2 separate regions of the Homo sapiens genome follow, and region 1 is linked to region 2. The links are contacts of gene promoters, found by promoter capture Hi-C in blood cells and fetal thymus (Javierre and others, 2016). All regions are on one chromosome and are shown on one strand. The core of a region is centred on a gene start or on the middle of the fragment in contact, and the rest is flanking DNA. Distances in the headings are between cores, read along the strand shown. Region 1 overlaps HECTD2-AS1 (HECTD2 antisense RNA 1). Region 2 holds the start of PPP1R3C (protein phosphatase 1 regulatory subunit 3C).

Region 1 (7,248 bases), core at 1,297-3,796, 71 kb before region 2:
TTTTGGACTGGATCTTACACCATCAGCTCTCATGGTTCTCAGCCCTTTGGACTCAGACTGCAACTGGACATTGGCTCTCCTGGGTCTGCAACTTGCAGACTGCAGATCTGGACTTTTTCAACCTGTAATTCTTTAAGATGAGTAAACAAGTAAGTACATAAAAACATAACTTATTGATTCTGTTTCTGTTCTCTGAAGAACAGAGCCAGTAGTCTGTTTCTGACTAATACACACTATATTAACGTTCCTCAGATCTTAAGTTCCTCCAAACACTTTGGAAAATGCCGGAAAGCTTTCTTAGGTAGAGGCCAAATTTTCTCATATAGCATTCAAAGCCTGTTATGCTTTGGTTCCCTACTCTTTTCTAGTCTCATGTACTGTTCTAGCAAACAAAATGTTATTTCAGACTCTTGCGCTTTTACATGTACTAGTCTCTCTGCTAGTTGCCCCTTTCCCATCTATCAAATGTGGAAACATGGGAAAGTTACTTAAGCTCTGTGCCTCAGTTTCCTTTCCAGAAAATAGAGATCATAGAAATAACTACCTCATTGGTTATTATGAGGATTAAATGCCTGCATGAACTTTGAACAGTTCCTGACACACGGTAAGTGCTAAATACACGTTAGAGATCATTCTGCAATCCCACTGCACTTTGTGCATCCCTCAATGAAAACACACTCCATGCAGTAATAAATGATTTTCTTGTACATGTATCTCTCCAACTAAATCACAAAGTCTTCAAAGACAGGAATATCATATTGTTCCTCTTTGATTCTCCCAAGTTTAGCACAATATGTGGTTCTTGGCTATGATCAACAAGTGCTTGGTGAATGAATGGCTGAATGATCTTCACACCTAAAGAAACTAAAATTCCAACAAGGTGAAATAAGTTGCACGTCACATAGACAGACAAGAAATGCCAGCACTTGGAATCCGGGTATCCCAGTTTCTGAAACCAGGAGCTCCATTTACCACCTAGAAATTGCTTCCCACTTGGTGACAGCATTCTTGTAATTCAATTCAACAAGTCTTTCTTAAGCACTTACTATGCATCAGACCTGGGGACTGGGGATGACGAAAATTCAATCCATGCCCTCGAGGCATCAGGCAGCCATCCCCTGGACCTAAACCTCCAGCTGGCCTCCCTGCCTCCAGACCCCTACCCCTGCCACTCATTCTTCAAGGCACCATCAGAATTACTGCTTGGGCTTACATGCCCTAAAAGCCATAGCCTCTGGGAATAATGCCCACATTTCTGGTCTGCCACCACCATAACCCATCCATAATCTAACTTCATTGTATTAGTCCATTCTCACACTGGTATAAGGACATACTGAGACTGGGAAATTTATAAAGGAAAGGGGTTTAATTGACTCACAGTTCTGCAGGGCTGGGCGGGGGTGGACCTCAGGAAACTTACAATCATGGTGGAAAAGGAAGCAAACACATCCTTCTCTACAAGACGGCAACAAGGAGAAGTGCAGAGTGAAGTGGGGGAAAACCCCTTATAAAACCATCAGATCTCATGAGAACTCACTCACTGTCATGAGAACAGCATGGAGGTAACCGCCCCCATGATTCCACTACCTCCCACCAGGTCCCTCCCACGACATATGGGGATTATGGGAACTACAGTTCAAGATGAGATTTGAGTGGGAACATAGCCAAACCACATCATTCCTCCCCTGACCGCTCCCACATCTCATGTCCTCACATTTCAAAACACAATCATGCCTTCCCAACAGTCCCCCAAATTCTTAAGTCATTCCAGCATTAACTCAAAAGTCTAAGTCCAAAGTCTCCTCTGAAACAAGGCAAGTCCCTTCTGCCTATGAGTCTGCAAAATCAAAAGCAAGTTAGTTACTTCCTAGATAACAATAGTGTTACAGGCATTGGGTAAATACACCCATTCCAAATGGGAGAAATTGGCCAAAATGAAGGGGCTACAAGCCCCATGCAAGTCCAAAATCCAATGGGGCAGTCAAATCTTAAAGCTCCAAAACGATCTCCTTTGACTCCATGTCTCACCTCCAGGTCACGTGAGATGCAAGAGGTGGCCTCCCATGGCCTTGGGCAGCTCCACCCCTGTGGCTTTGCAGAGTACAGCCCCCCCTCCCAGCTGCTTTCATGGCTGGCGTTGAGTGTCTGCAGCTTTTCCAGGCGCATGATGCAAGCTGTTAGTGGATCTACCATTCTGGGGTCTGGAGGACGATGGTCCTCTTATTACAGCTCCAATGGGCAGTGCCCCAGTGGGGACTCTGTATGGGGGCTCTGATCCCACATTTCCCTTCCGCACTGCCCTAGCAGAGGTTCTCCATTAGGGCTCCACCCCTGGAGCACACCTCTGCCCGGACATCCAGGTGTTTCCATACACCCTCTAAAATCTAAGCAGAGGTTCCCAAACCTCAGTCCTTGACTTCTGTGCACACACAGGCCCAACACCCTGTGGAAGCTGCCAAGGCTTGGGGTTTGCACCCTCTGGAGCAATGGCCTCAGCTGTATGTTGGCCCCTTTTAGCCACACTGGGACAGGGCACCAAGTCCCAAGACTGCACAAAGCAGCAAGGCCCTGGGCCTGGCCCAAGAAACCATTTTTTCCTCCAGGGCTGTGATGGGAGGGGCTGCCGTGAGGATCTTTGACATGCTCTAGAGACATTTTCTCCATTGTCTTGGTGATTAACATTTGGCTCCTCATTACTTATGCAAATTTCTGTAGCCAGCTTGAATTTCTCCCCAGAAAATGGGTTTTTTTCTTTTCTACTGCACCATTGGGCTGCAAATTTTCCACTTTTATGCTCTGTAACCTCTTGAATGCTTTGCTGCTTAGAAATTTCTTCTGCCAGATACCCTAAGTCATCTTTCTCAAGTTCAAAGTTCCAAAGGTCTTTAGAACAGGGGCAAAATTCCACCAGTCTCTTTGCATAGCAAAAGTGACCTTTACTCCAGTTCCCAACAAGTTTCTCATCTCCATCTGAGACCACCTCAGCCTGGAGTTTAGTGTCCATATCACTATTAGCATTTTGGTCAAAGCCATTCAACAAATCTCTAAGAAGTTCCAAACTTTACCACATCTTCTTGTCTTCTGAGCCCCTTCAAGTCTCTAGGAAGTTCCAAACTTTCCCACATGTTCCTGTCTTCTTCTGAGCCCTCCCAACTGTTCTAGCCTCTGCCTGTTACACAGTTCCAAAGTCACTTTCACATTTTCAGGTATCTTTACAGCAGCACCCCACTACCTGCTACCAATTTACTGTATTAGTCTGTTCTCACACTTCTATAAAGACATACCCAAGACTGGGTAATTTTGAAAGAAAAGAGGTTTAATTTTCTCTGCCGGGCTGTGGAGGAGGCAGACTCAGGAAACTTACAAACATGGCAGAAAAGGAAACAAAAACATCCTTCTTCACATGGCAGCAGCAAGGAGAAGTGCAGAGCAAAAGGGGGGAAACCCCTTATAAAGCCATCAGATCTCATGAAAACTTGCTCACTATCACAAGAACAGCATGGAGGTAACTGCCCCCATAATTCAATTACCTCCCACTGGGTCTCTCCTATGACACATGGGGATTTTGGAAACTACAGTTCAAGATGAGATTTGGGTAGGGACACAGTCAAACCATATCATTCGTTTACCCACACAAGCTCATATCTGACCATCTGACCACTGCCAACTTGACCCTTCTCACTGTGGGTCCCTCACAAACCACACAGCAGACTTATTTCCATCTCCACCCCTCTGCTCATTTGGTGCCTCCTGTGTGACAAAGTTCCTTTGTTTCTCAACCTGTAATTGGTATGACCTACTTCACTAGCTTGGGATACAAACATAGTCACACTTTGTTTTTCAGTTCACTTTTGGAGGTCCTATATGTGCCTATTAGAACTATGTTTCCCTCTTTCTGTTCTCTCAAAATTGTATAAGAATTCCAGGGACTTCTTTTTGTCAAATGAAATGACAACTTAAAAATCTAATCTGGTCACTACTGCCATTGCTTCCTGCTGCCTCATGCAGTTGAAGCCCTGCCTTTGCTAGCTTAGGACATTTGTCTGCCCTGTGGTTATGCCCTTGGCCCGGGTCCTGACCCAGTTTGCAGGTTTCAGCTCCTCTAATCACACCTGTATGCTATGCCATGTGCCCAGAGCTTGATGCTGGTGGCTCCCACAATCATCATTAGGGTTTGGGTTAAGCCCAAGTCACAAAGCCAGACACCCTTTTCCCCCACAGTAACTCCCACTCTGAAGACATTAGAGTAATTTTCTGCCAATCATTCCAAGGTCTTGGCTACCCCAGGATACACTCGTGACATTCCTCTCACTTCCAAACTCCATAAAAGGAGCCTGTGCTCCTGTACTTTCCTACCCAGAAAAATCCTGAGCCTCTTATGCAAGTCAACCCAACTTCTGCACACTGCAAACCAAAGGGAGAAGCAGTTGCTGTTAAGCCACAAAAGAAAGTAAGTCCCCATTACATCTTTTTCCCAGACCAATAGGTGTCTTCTTATATTTGCTTAACTAAGAGACACCATTTGAGCAACTCTTCATAAACCAAGGTAACCCAGTGTGTCCATCTTCTCAAAGGAATGCTGGCAGTTTCTACTCTAAGTTGTGGTTTCTGTAGGTTGTTTCCTACACAGTAATTTATTGCACAGCAATCTCAGGTTCAAGGTCTAGAGAAAGTCCACAATAATATCTCTTCTAAAATTCCTATAGCATTTATATATATAGTCCATATCTCAATTTGTTCATTTATTGAACAAATACTTATTGAGCACCAATTATGTACCAGGTCCAGGCAATGGGTATGCAAAGCTTAAAAGGCCACAGCCTCTGTCTCCAGAGCCTGCCAAGCTAGAGGATTCTATATTGGTCTATGTTAGTCAGTGTGACAGTTGCCAGTGCGCTGGGCCTGCAGCTAGAACACTAGAAGGCCAGGCGGCACAGGGCACTGCAGTACCCCACTTGCCCTCTTACAGTTAATCTGGTGGATGATAAATAAGGTTGCAACTTTATTCAAATTGCAGCGCAAGCTCTGCCTTCATTACTGTTACCTCTTTCTGCTCTCTAGCCAGTTACCACCTCTTCCATTTGAAAGGACTATGAAAACGGGTCTCCTGCCTTCCTACAGAAGTACTAGCAAGTTGGCCGGGCATTGTGGCTCACCCCTATAATCCCAGCACCTTGGAAGGCCGAGGCAGGAGGACAACATGAGCCCAAGAGTTCGAGACAAGCCTGGGCAACACAGTGAGACACTGTCTCCACTAAAAAAAAAAAAAAAATAGCCAGGCACGGTGGCACATGCCTGTAGTCTCAGCTACTCAAGAGGTTCAGGCAGCAGGATTGCTTGAGCCCAGGTGTTGGAGGCTGCAGTGAGCTATAATTATGCCACTGAGCTCCAGGCTGGGGAACAGAAAAGACCTTATCTCAAAAAAGACAGAAGTACTTGCAAGTGATAAAGCTGAAAGCATCTTAGCTGAGACATGCACACTAAGGATTGGGTTGGATTTCTGAAAAGTATGTAACCTGATATATTCGTCAAAAAATTAATTCAATTCCATAAATACAGCAACTGCTGTATTTATACAGCAACTGCTATATGACGTGGTAAGTAGTCAGGTTCAATTAACACTGTGGATTTTTCCTGTTTTTGCTGAGACTAACAATAATCTTAATATACAATTGTTTTATAAACATAAATTCCTCTTTGAATGAAGAAGTAAAAGAAAAAAGTATGTCTGGGAGTAAGTGGGTACCTGCCTGTAGAAAAGATAACTATTTTAAGTTGAGTGAGAAGGGGAGATACTCAACATCAGTAAAATATTCCCCTGGCTTAAGGTGGCCTTGGTTGAGGAAATATTACAGATTTCCAAGTGAGTGAGTACAGAATCCAGGAGAAGGAACCAATAGCACTTAGTGACTGCGGAAGACCTGAACTTGAGCTCCAGCCAGAGAAGACTCAGTTTCACCATAAGCTGGAGCTGAGCAAACTCGCTGGCCAGACTGGGAAATGAGTAGAATGCATACAGCTGGGCCAAGCTAGACTTTGGCACATGCCTGCAAATTGCCTTTCTGCACATCACATATACCCTGAAATTCCTCACAGGGTTGTAAAATTTAGCTCTGGGTCATATGCTTTAGAAGAGTCACTGCAAAACTAGTTTAAGGGGGATGGAGGAACAAGGAGCCATGTCTTAGCTCTTAGGTCACAGACTAAAGAAGGAAAAGGCCTACTTTCCTTTAGTGACTGGAAGTGGGACTGACCAATGGTGAAAGAGGTAGCCTCCCATTTGAGGGTGTCCTGGGTAATGTTATCATCAAAGAACTGACCCAGAGCTAACATCAGAATCCTGTGTCTAGCAGAGGGAACACAAGGTCTCTTATAAGGAGCCAGTTGGGAGGGGAAGCTAAATTATACTGCCCACCTTGGTGGGCTCCCAGCCAGCAGGGGAGGGCTGCAGCCTGGCTCTCCTCTTAGTGAGAGGTCCCCCCAGTTCCTTCCTGGGGCTGAGTTGGCTGGCATCTGTGGGCTGAGAGTGAGACCTTTGAAGCAATGCACAGTTCTGAAATCTTAGCTTGCTGTCAAGGTGGTCCCTGCAAAGGATACCTGGAGCAAGGACTGGCTAAGGGCGTGTTGACGCCAAGCTTCCACGGAACCCAGACAATGAAGGGAGAGGACACTTTTGTCCATAGACATCATCTGGGGAGTCAGGATGGTCCAGTTTTTCAAGCCATTCATGGAATTAAAAGAGAAATGTCTTGGGAGTGATTGGTGGGTGGTTCTAAGGATAAGAGATCACAGCATTAGGAGAAGAAGGGTTAAGAAGTAATCATTATTGATTGTCTACAATGCGGTGGCTATTTTATATACACATTATCTCTCTTAATTCTGACAAAATTCTATAAAGGGAAATGTGACCTTTTTCATTGGACAAATAAGGAAGCAGATTCAGAGAGAGAAAGTGAGCTGCCCACGCATGCTAGCCGGTGACAGGGTCAGGATGCAAAGCCTTCTCTTGCTTTCAGCATGGCCCATGTTTTTCCCAACAACAAAAAAAAAGATATTAAATACCTGCTATGACCACAGCATAGAGCTGGGCCCTGTGGGCACACACAAATAGGTTCCTGCCTCACAGGCTAAAGGGAGAAGCAAGACCTATGATTATAGTGGCTGTAAACTACTAGCAGTTAATCAATATTAACAACTCTTCAACCTCTCACACCCTTCTCCCCTTGGTCACTAGTCTGACTAGACTGG
Region 2 (7,144 bases), core at 4,016-6,515:
ACATAGAGGATTCTATGATATGATAAAAGTTTATTCTTCATAATTGGGCCTTTTTAGTAGATTGGTCAACACTGTGCAGATCTTTCTTTAGATACACTGTGCAGATTTTAGGCAGAACTGGAGCAACAACTTAGGTTCATGGACCTGCTGCCTCTCACCCCAAGGAGCAGTGCTGCTCCCTTCAGTCCAGGACTGGCGCCTACTGCCCCTTCCCTATGCCCCTCTGTGCAGCTGGAAGTTCTGCCCGTTCAGGAACGTGCTGTAGCTCAAGACGTAGCAGCCACTCCAACCTTTCCCACACCAACTCCTTCCCCATTTTAAAGCTGAGACATGGCCTCCAACATAACCCTGACCCAGCAGATTGTGTGTGTGTGAGCAGAAACCATAGATGAGGACAGTCAGGGTAGGGGAAGAAGTAGTAGCAACAGCTCAAGTTATTGACCCTGCTCTCCAGCCCCAATGGTCAGGTGGTAGGAAGTGTGCTCACTATTGAGACTGGGGCCTTGTGAATATCCTCAGATGGATCCATGTCTTGGTCCATACTAACTCTGCTCAGTTGTTCCTAAATGAAAAATGAGAATGTCAGTTGAGTTTCTTATTTGACTGTGGCTTTGAGAAAGAAAATATACTCAGGCCTTATATCAAACACATTTATTCTTAAAGTGAGAAGCTCATCAAGGATAGCTAGAGGAGAGTGAAATATTTACAGTAGAAAAGTATGGATGCTAGCCAAACTTCAAATTCTGTCACTGCAGAGTTATTCCGATAGTACTTTTCCACCATGGCACATCACACATGTTAAAATTAACTGCATTCTTGTAACACCTCTCAATGGTTGTGCACAATAATAGAAGCAACATTCTGGGACTCTTTTTCTTAAGATCCTACAGAATGAATTTATGCACACACAAAAACAAGTATAATACAAAACATTCAAAACAAGTCACATCCATTTTTTTAAAAAAAAGAAAACAGCAAGATGAAAATAGGCAAGGGATGGGTTGCTACTTCTATGTGCAAGGTACTGGATTCTTGCATTGAGAATCCTAGTGTCGGGCCTCACGTCAAGCATCACATCAAAAAAGTGTGCAGAAAAATGAGTCACCTTCAATATGAAGGATGTGAGTTGTGTACACTGACAACGGTCTCAAAGATACAACATTATTGCAGGAGGAATGCCTGTGTACAGAGTGGACCATCTTATGAGGCCAAAAACCCATGAGTTACCAGATGACCATTCAGATATTTGGGTTAAACGATGACAGTTTTCTGGTTTAATCAAGGCACTTGCAAAGAGCTATCTTTGACATGACATGAAGTCCCTACGTGTTGTTAGCCATTAATGATGGCATGGTTTTTCTATACCAAGCATTCTATAACAAGAACCCAAGCCTGACAGTTTGATCACAAAGTCACTTATAACATCAGGACTACAAAGCCAGATTTGCTTAAACTTTCCCCAAATTATGATTTTTTATAGATCACATCTGAACAGAAAGGCTTCACTTAAGATCTTGATTCTCCGGAGCTATAATTCATCTTCTTTCTCCAATACCACCCACATTCTTAAAGGTTATTTAGCTTTTCTCCACAAGGATACGTAGAATGGATCTTTTTCCCCTCCAGAAATAATTTCCCCAGGAAAGAATTGTAAAACCAACTTAAAAACACAAAATAACCTTACGTTTTTCCACCAACAATGATCAGACCTCCCACTCCTCTGACTTGAGCTTCAGAGCCCTTTGTGTATACTTTTCACACATTCCTCATACCATTAACACAGCTTTCCATCACCATCAGCCATCCTTCCTCAACTTTTCCTTGCCCAACATGAAAGCTAGTGGATTGAGAGGGAAGGAAGAAGGGAACTGAAAAAGTATTACCTTTATAAAAATAGTTTTCAACCTGTTACTTGATCCTTCAAAGCCAAATTGGGTAGCATCATCTGTACAGACCCCAACACTAAATTCTCAAGTGTCTTTCTTTTCCATAGCCAGGTCTCAAAAGCTCAAATCTAAACCTACTGATGGAGTAGCAAAGGCTTCCTAAAATTGAGCAATACAGACCTAGGATTGCATGGGGGAATATGACAAGTCAAGACCAGTTACATTGTTGCTTAATTCATCGATAAGAGGCCAAGTTCTCCATTCTCCCCCAGCTCTGCCACTCTGGGAAGAGCCCACTAGCCAGCCTCGGACTGCCAAAGATTGTTGACTCTAACTCTGTCTTAGGAGACGTCTGGTGGAATGCACAGTCCTGGGGTGCCATCTGTGTCTGCACCCCATCAGGCTTCCATTGAACATGAACAATTCTATAATTCTGACCATCATTGTTGTCCCAAAAGACTTGCCCATTAGCATGGTAAGAAATGCAGAACTCAATTTTCTGCTCAGTTGGAATGACAGGGGGTAAGTCAATGGCAAATGAGAAGGTATCACTATCTGTGCCACCATACACATTTTTCATATAGACACAGTCTACGTCAGTGTAGTTTTTCCAAGAATCGAAAGTGATACGGATCTGAACTTTCTTCTCAAAACTCACATTTTTGACTTTAACAGTCCCTGTCACTGTTCGCTCTTGCAACGAGCAGTTCTCCAGACAGACAAAGTTCTTCTGAAAGTGGCTCCGGAAACTTAAGTAATCGGTTGAAGGCTGAGGGAAATCTAAAATCAAGTTTTTCTCCTCGTGGTGTTTTAAGGCAGAGGAGATATCATTAAGGTCCAAGAGATCAAACTGCAGATCCCACGCTGGTTCTTCTGGGAGGTCGGAGAAGACATGGATCGCAGTGAGAGAGAGGCCCTTGGAGTCAGCAAACACAACGCGCTTCTTGGCTTGGTTGTGTGAGCACTTCCAGTCATTCTGTGATTTGGCTTTGTGTTTTATATTGAGACATGATTTCAGGGGCTTTAATTTATTCACAAAATGTCGTCGTTGAAATTCATCGTACGGGCCCAGGAAACTCTTCACAGGTGGTGAATGTGCCAAGCAAAGCCTCATGGCCACATCCACGGGCATGACCGAACTTGTCAAAGGACGTGGATCTAAAACCTGGATCATTCTGGAATGCAAAAAGAAGAGGGATTATCACCTGGATCGGAAATGCTCTTCCCCAGTGCCAAATACATATGTACTATTTTTGTGCTGACTGAATTATAGCCAGTGCACTAGATATCAGGCAGGTGCTATCATATGTAGTAAAAGAGAACAGTATTAAGTGATCAGATCTTCTATGTCTACCTCTACCCTTGGCCGGCTAAAGGCTATTAATTGCTTAAAACACTTAGAGGGTGATGGGGGTCTCAGTTTCCCCATCTGAGAAATAAAAGGGTTCGATTTGATTATCTCCAAGGCAGCCTTGAGAACTGTGTGCTCTGTTCTGGACCAGTGGTCCTCAAACCTGTCTGGTCACTATGTCTAGGGAATTCATTTTCTTTCTTTCTTGTCTTTCCTCCTTTCCTCCTTCCCTCCTTCCTTCCTTTCTTCCTCTCTCTCTCTCTTTCTCTTTCTTCTTTCTTTCCAATTCCTGGGACTCAGAACTACTGAGGCAGAACTTCTGGGGCTAGGGCCAAGGGATGGGTATGTTCTTAAAGCTTCCCAGGTGATTCTAATGACCAGACAGGTTCAGGAGCCACAGTTCCAGACCCTCTGCTCCCTCTGGCTACGTTGGCTTATTTTGCTGCTAAATTGATTGACACTTCTCTGGTAAGGTAATTCACTTGAAAAAAAAAAAATAACATGCAACAGTTTTGAGAGTGAGAAGGCTAGAGAAGAAGTCAAAGAATCATCTTTGCACTTTGATTATCATGCTCTTATTTTTCACAAATAACCACTGAAATACAAGCCAACAATTCATATGCACTTAAAAACTATATAATTGATAATTCACCTAAAGAGATGCCCATGACAAGTCCACATTTAAGTGGAAAAACTGATTACCTGAAAGTTGGAGTGTTTTAAAATATACATTTTATATATACAAACTTATAAATATTGAAAAACTCTATAGGAAATACACCTTTCCTAATAATTTAATAATTATTATTTCTGGGTGATAGGATTATAGATTATCTATTTTCGTTTTTGTTCTTTTTTGGCATTTTCTAATAGACATTTATAAGTAGAAAGACAATAAAACCATTTAAAGTTTTAAACATGACTATGCTCAGCAATATTAAACCAAGAAGCATCTATAAAGAAGACTTTTCTCTGACCTTTAGCCCTCATCATATATTTCCAAGCTTATGGTATTAAGATTTTTTTCCCTATCTTAGCCTTACAAGTAAGAGGTGTGTGTATACTGTACACGACATTTCTCAGTCTGGCTTTAGTAACTCTCCTCACAGCAGCTCTAAACATGTATGCAAGTGGTCATTATCACAAAAGTGTGTAATAACACTCGCAGAATTTACTGTGTTAGCTCTGGGGTTTTTCTGGGAGATCTGCAAACTTAGAACAAACAAATGAAAGCTAAAGCTATATTTGTGGGTCTAATAATAGTTAATAGGCAGGATTTTTAGAGAAGTCTTCTGCTAAGCTATGTCTGGAGAAGCTATTTAAAGTAGTTTTATGGGAGGTTTTTTTTGGTTTTTTTGTTTTTTTTTTTTTACTTTTTGCATTTATAGAAAGACAGTTTTAGTTTGGGTGATTTCCTTGGAACTTTAAGTCCTGGACAAGAGTTAAAAGTAATCGTTTGCTCAAACTCTTGAGATTTTGCTATGGCAAACTGTGATAAGAAGGACGAATGAATGCAAACGTCGTCCTGTAATTTTTTTCCTCCAAGCTAAACCACCTAACCAGCAATGTCAGAGTGCTGTTCTCACCACTTCAGCTGCCCGAGTCTTTGGGACATTTGTGCAGGACCAAAAGAACAGCCGCATCCATGAGAAAATCCTAACTCAAGCTGATTCACGTTAAGATAATTTCTGCTTTAAGATGCTGATTACTAAAATAGGCTCTGCTTAAGAAATAGAGCCAAATTTCTACACCTCCAAGGCCTCTCGGTTGCCAGATTCAACTACGCAGTCAGTCCACTTGTCCTCCCCCTGGGGTGTCCATTTCCAGAGATGATAGAACTGAAACGCCCCCCAACTTCCCCACAGCTGCGCGTTCCCCTGTGTTCCTAGCGCGCAGAGTTGCAGCGAACCTACCTGGTGCAGCTCATTAGGCAGAGAGGCGGCGGACCCTAAAAGCCAGCACCCGCTGCCTGCACAAATTCGAACCACAGCTCCAGGCCTTGCCCCCGCGGCGGTCGCTGGGAGAGACTGAGGGCCCGGCGCCTAGAGGCCGCTTATCTGCTCCCAAGCACGTGACCCGATCCCTGGGACCAATCGCCGGGCCTCGAGCCCCAGGGCGCGACCAACCAGCGCCCAGCTGGGGCGCCAGCCCTCGCCCCGGCAACGTGATCGCCCCGGGGCGAGACGTGCAGAGAGCTATCTGGGCATCGCGGGGAGGTTCTGGGACTCCGCGGCCAGCTGGAACCAGCCGCGTAACGGGAACCCTGGGCTAGGGGCCGGGCAGGCACGTACCGCATGCAGCGGGCGCCGGCCAAGAGAGAGCGCAGCCAGCCTCGCCCAGGCGGGGCGCCAGTGCCTCAGGCTTGGGGCGGCTGTTACTTGGGAATAGCTTTGTGGGTCACTGCGGGTGAATCTGCACACAGAAGATGTGGCTCAAACCGAATGTGTATCGCATTTGAAATGTTTATATCGTTCATTACCCGGTGTATCCGCATTTCTCCCTCACCTTAGCCTGCGCGATCCCAAACTGGCTGCATGCTTTTCGATTAGTATGAGTTCACAGATGCACCACACAGTAGACAGCTGCCGGGAATTACCAACTTATCTAACAAATGTTGTTAGGAAAGCATACGAGCCCCATAAAACACCAAGGTGGCATTTAATTAAAAGACACTTCGTATTTCTGTCTATTCTTCAATTTTCTCCCCTGCGGGGAACACTAAAGCCGGAAGTGAAATGACCCTTTTCACACATACAGCCGGTCAAGAGGCAGCAGTCAACCCAAACCCCTTACTCAATTCTGACGTCCTTTGGCAGTGGTGTGGAAATCAAAATGTTAAAATAAAATTTAAAAAATCACGCCGTATGTTTCATGGGCCTTCTGAGCCACTCACTTTCGCTGAAGTTTCATTATTTTGATTAGTTTGAAGAATTTTTAGACCATCATTTACAACTGTAAAATTAAATGTCTAAGTCAAGTCTAAATTATTTTTATAAAACCCACATCCTAGTTTTGCTCCCCTAATTGAGCTATCCATTAGTCAATTAAAATATACAAAAATTCCTATGTCTTTTAAACAACTGTCAAACAGTGGAATTGTTAAAATTATTAGAGTGAAGAAAAAAATCACACTGAATATCACTGGGAAAGGGACTTCATGCCTGGGTTTTATTTTTGAAATGAAATATCTAACTAATGGCAGGTCTTCTAGCCCCTTTAGCTCAACCAAAACTAGCTGGAAGGTCTTTGGATTGACACTTACTAGCTACACGAATCTAGGCAAGTTCTAACCTCAGTTTCCTCATGTGTAAAACAGAGATAGTAACGTTCTGAAGATGAAGTAAGATGGTGCCAATGAACAGACTCAGCACGATGCCCAGTGCCTGTGTTCCACCCGGGCTAGTTCCCAAGTTTCTACTTGATCTCTCAGCTAGAGTTTTTACTCTATCACCTCAAGGCGCCTGGTGCCTGAGCTAAAATATTGAGAATAGCTGCTGCTTGTTGAGCCTTTACTCTGTGCCAAACACTATGTGCTATCAATTCAATCCTCACAACAACCCTATGTGATATGTCCAATTATTAATCCCATTTTAGAGAAAAGAAAACGGAGACACTGAATGGTCAGGAAATCTGCCCAGTGGATCACTTGAGGCCAGGAGTTCAAGACCAGCCTGGCCAACATGGTGAAACCCTATCTCTACTAAAAATACAAAAATTAGCCGGGCATGGTGGTGCACACCTGTACTCTCAGCTACTCTGGAGGCTGAGGCAGGAGAATCGCTTGAACCCGGGAGGCGGAGGTTGCAGTGAGCTGAGATTGCACCACTGCACTCCAGCCTGGGCAACAGAGCGAGACTCTATCTCGAAAACAAAAAACAAAAAAAAAACCTGCCCAGGTTCTCACAGG

The links. Contacts are between HindIII fragments. The CHiCAGO score rates a contact against its expected background, and 5 or more counts as called.
Region 1: a contact is called between a fragment that was not itself captured here and the fragment with the promoter of PPP1R3C in region 2, in 1 of 17 cell types (endothelial precursors). The highest score is 8.0, in endothelial precursors.

What each region holds. Positions count from the first base shown.
Region 1 is chr10:91,559,328-91,566,575 of GRCh38, forward strand. All of the region lies in intron 1 of HECTD2-AS1 (HECTD2 antisense RNA 1), which reads right to left. The region is part of intron 2 of LOC105378433 (a long non-coding RNA gene); the gene reads left to right. Among named protein-coding and RNA genes, the nearest start is that of HECTD2-AS1, 49 kb to the right of the region's middle. The HindIII fragment of the contact is 4,513 bases long and covers 291-4,803 here.
Region 2 is chr10:91,627,806-91,634,949 of GRCh38, forward strand. It overlaps PPP1R3C (protein phosphatase 1 regulatory subunit 3C), which reads right to left and starts at 5,266. Exons shown (of 2, transcript NM_005398.7): 1 at 5,151-5,266; 2 at 637-3,061. The coding sequence starts at 5,164. The coding sequence ends at 2,122. RefSeq lists enhancers at 4,897-5,398, 5,399-5,898 and a silencer at 5,233-5,372. The HindIII fragment of the contact is 3,050 bases long and covers 4,240-7,144 here.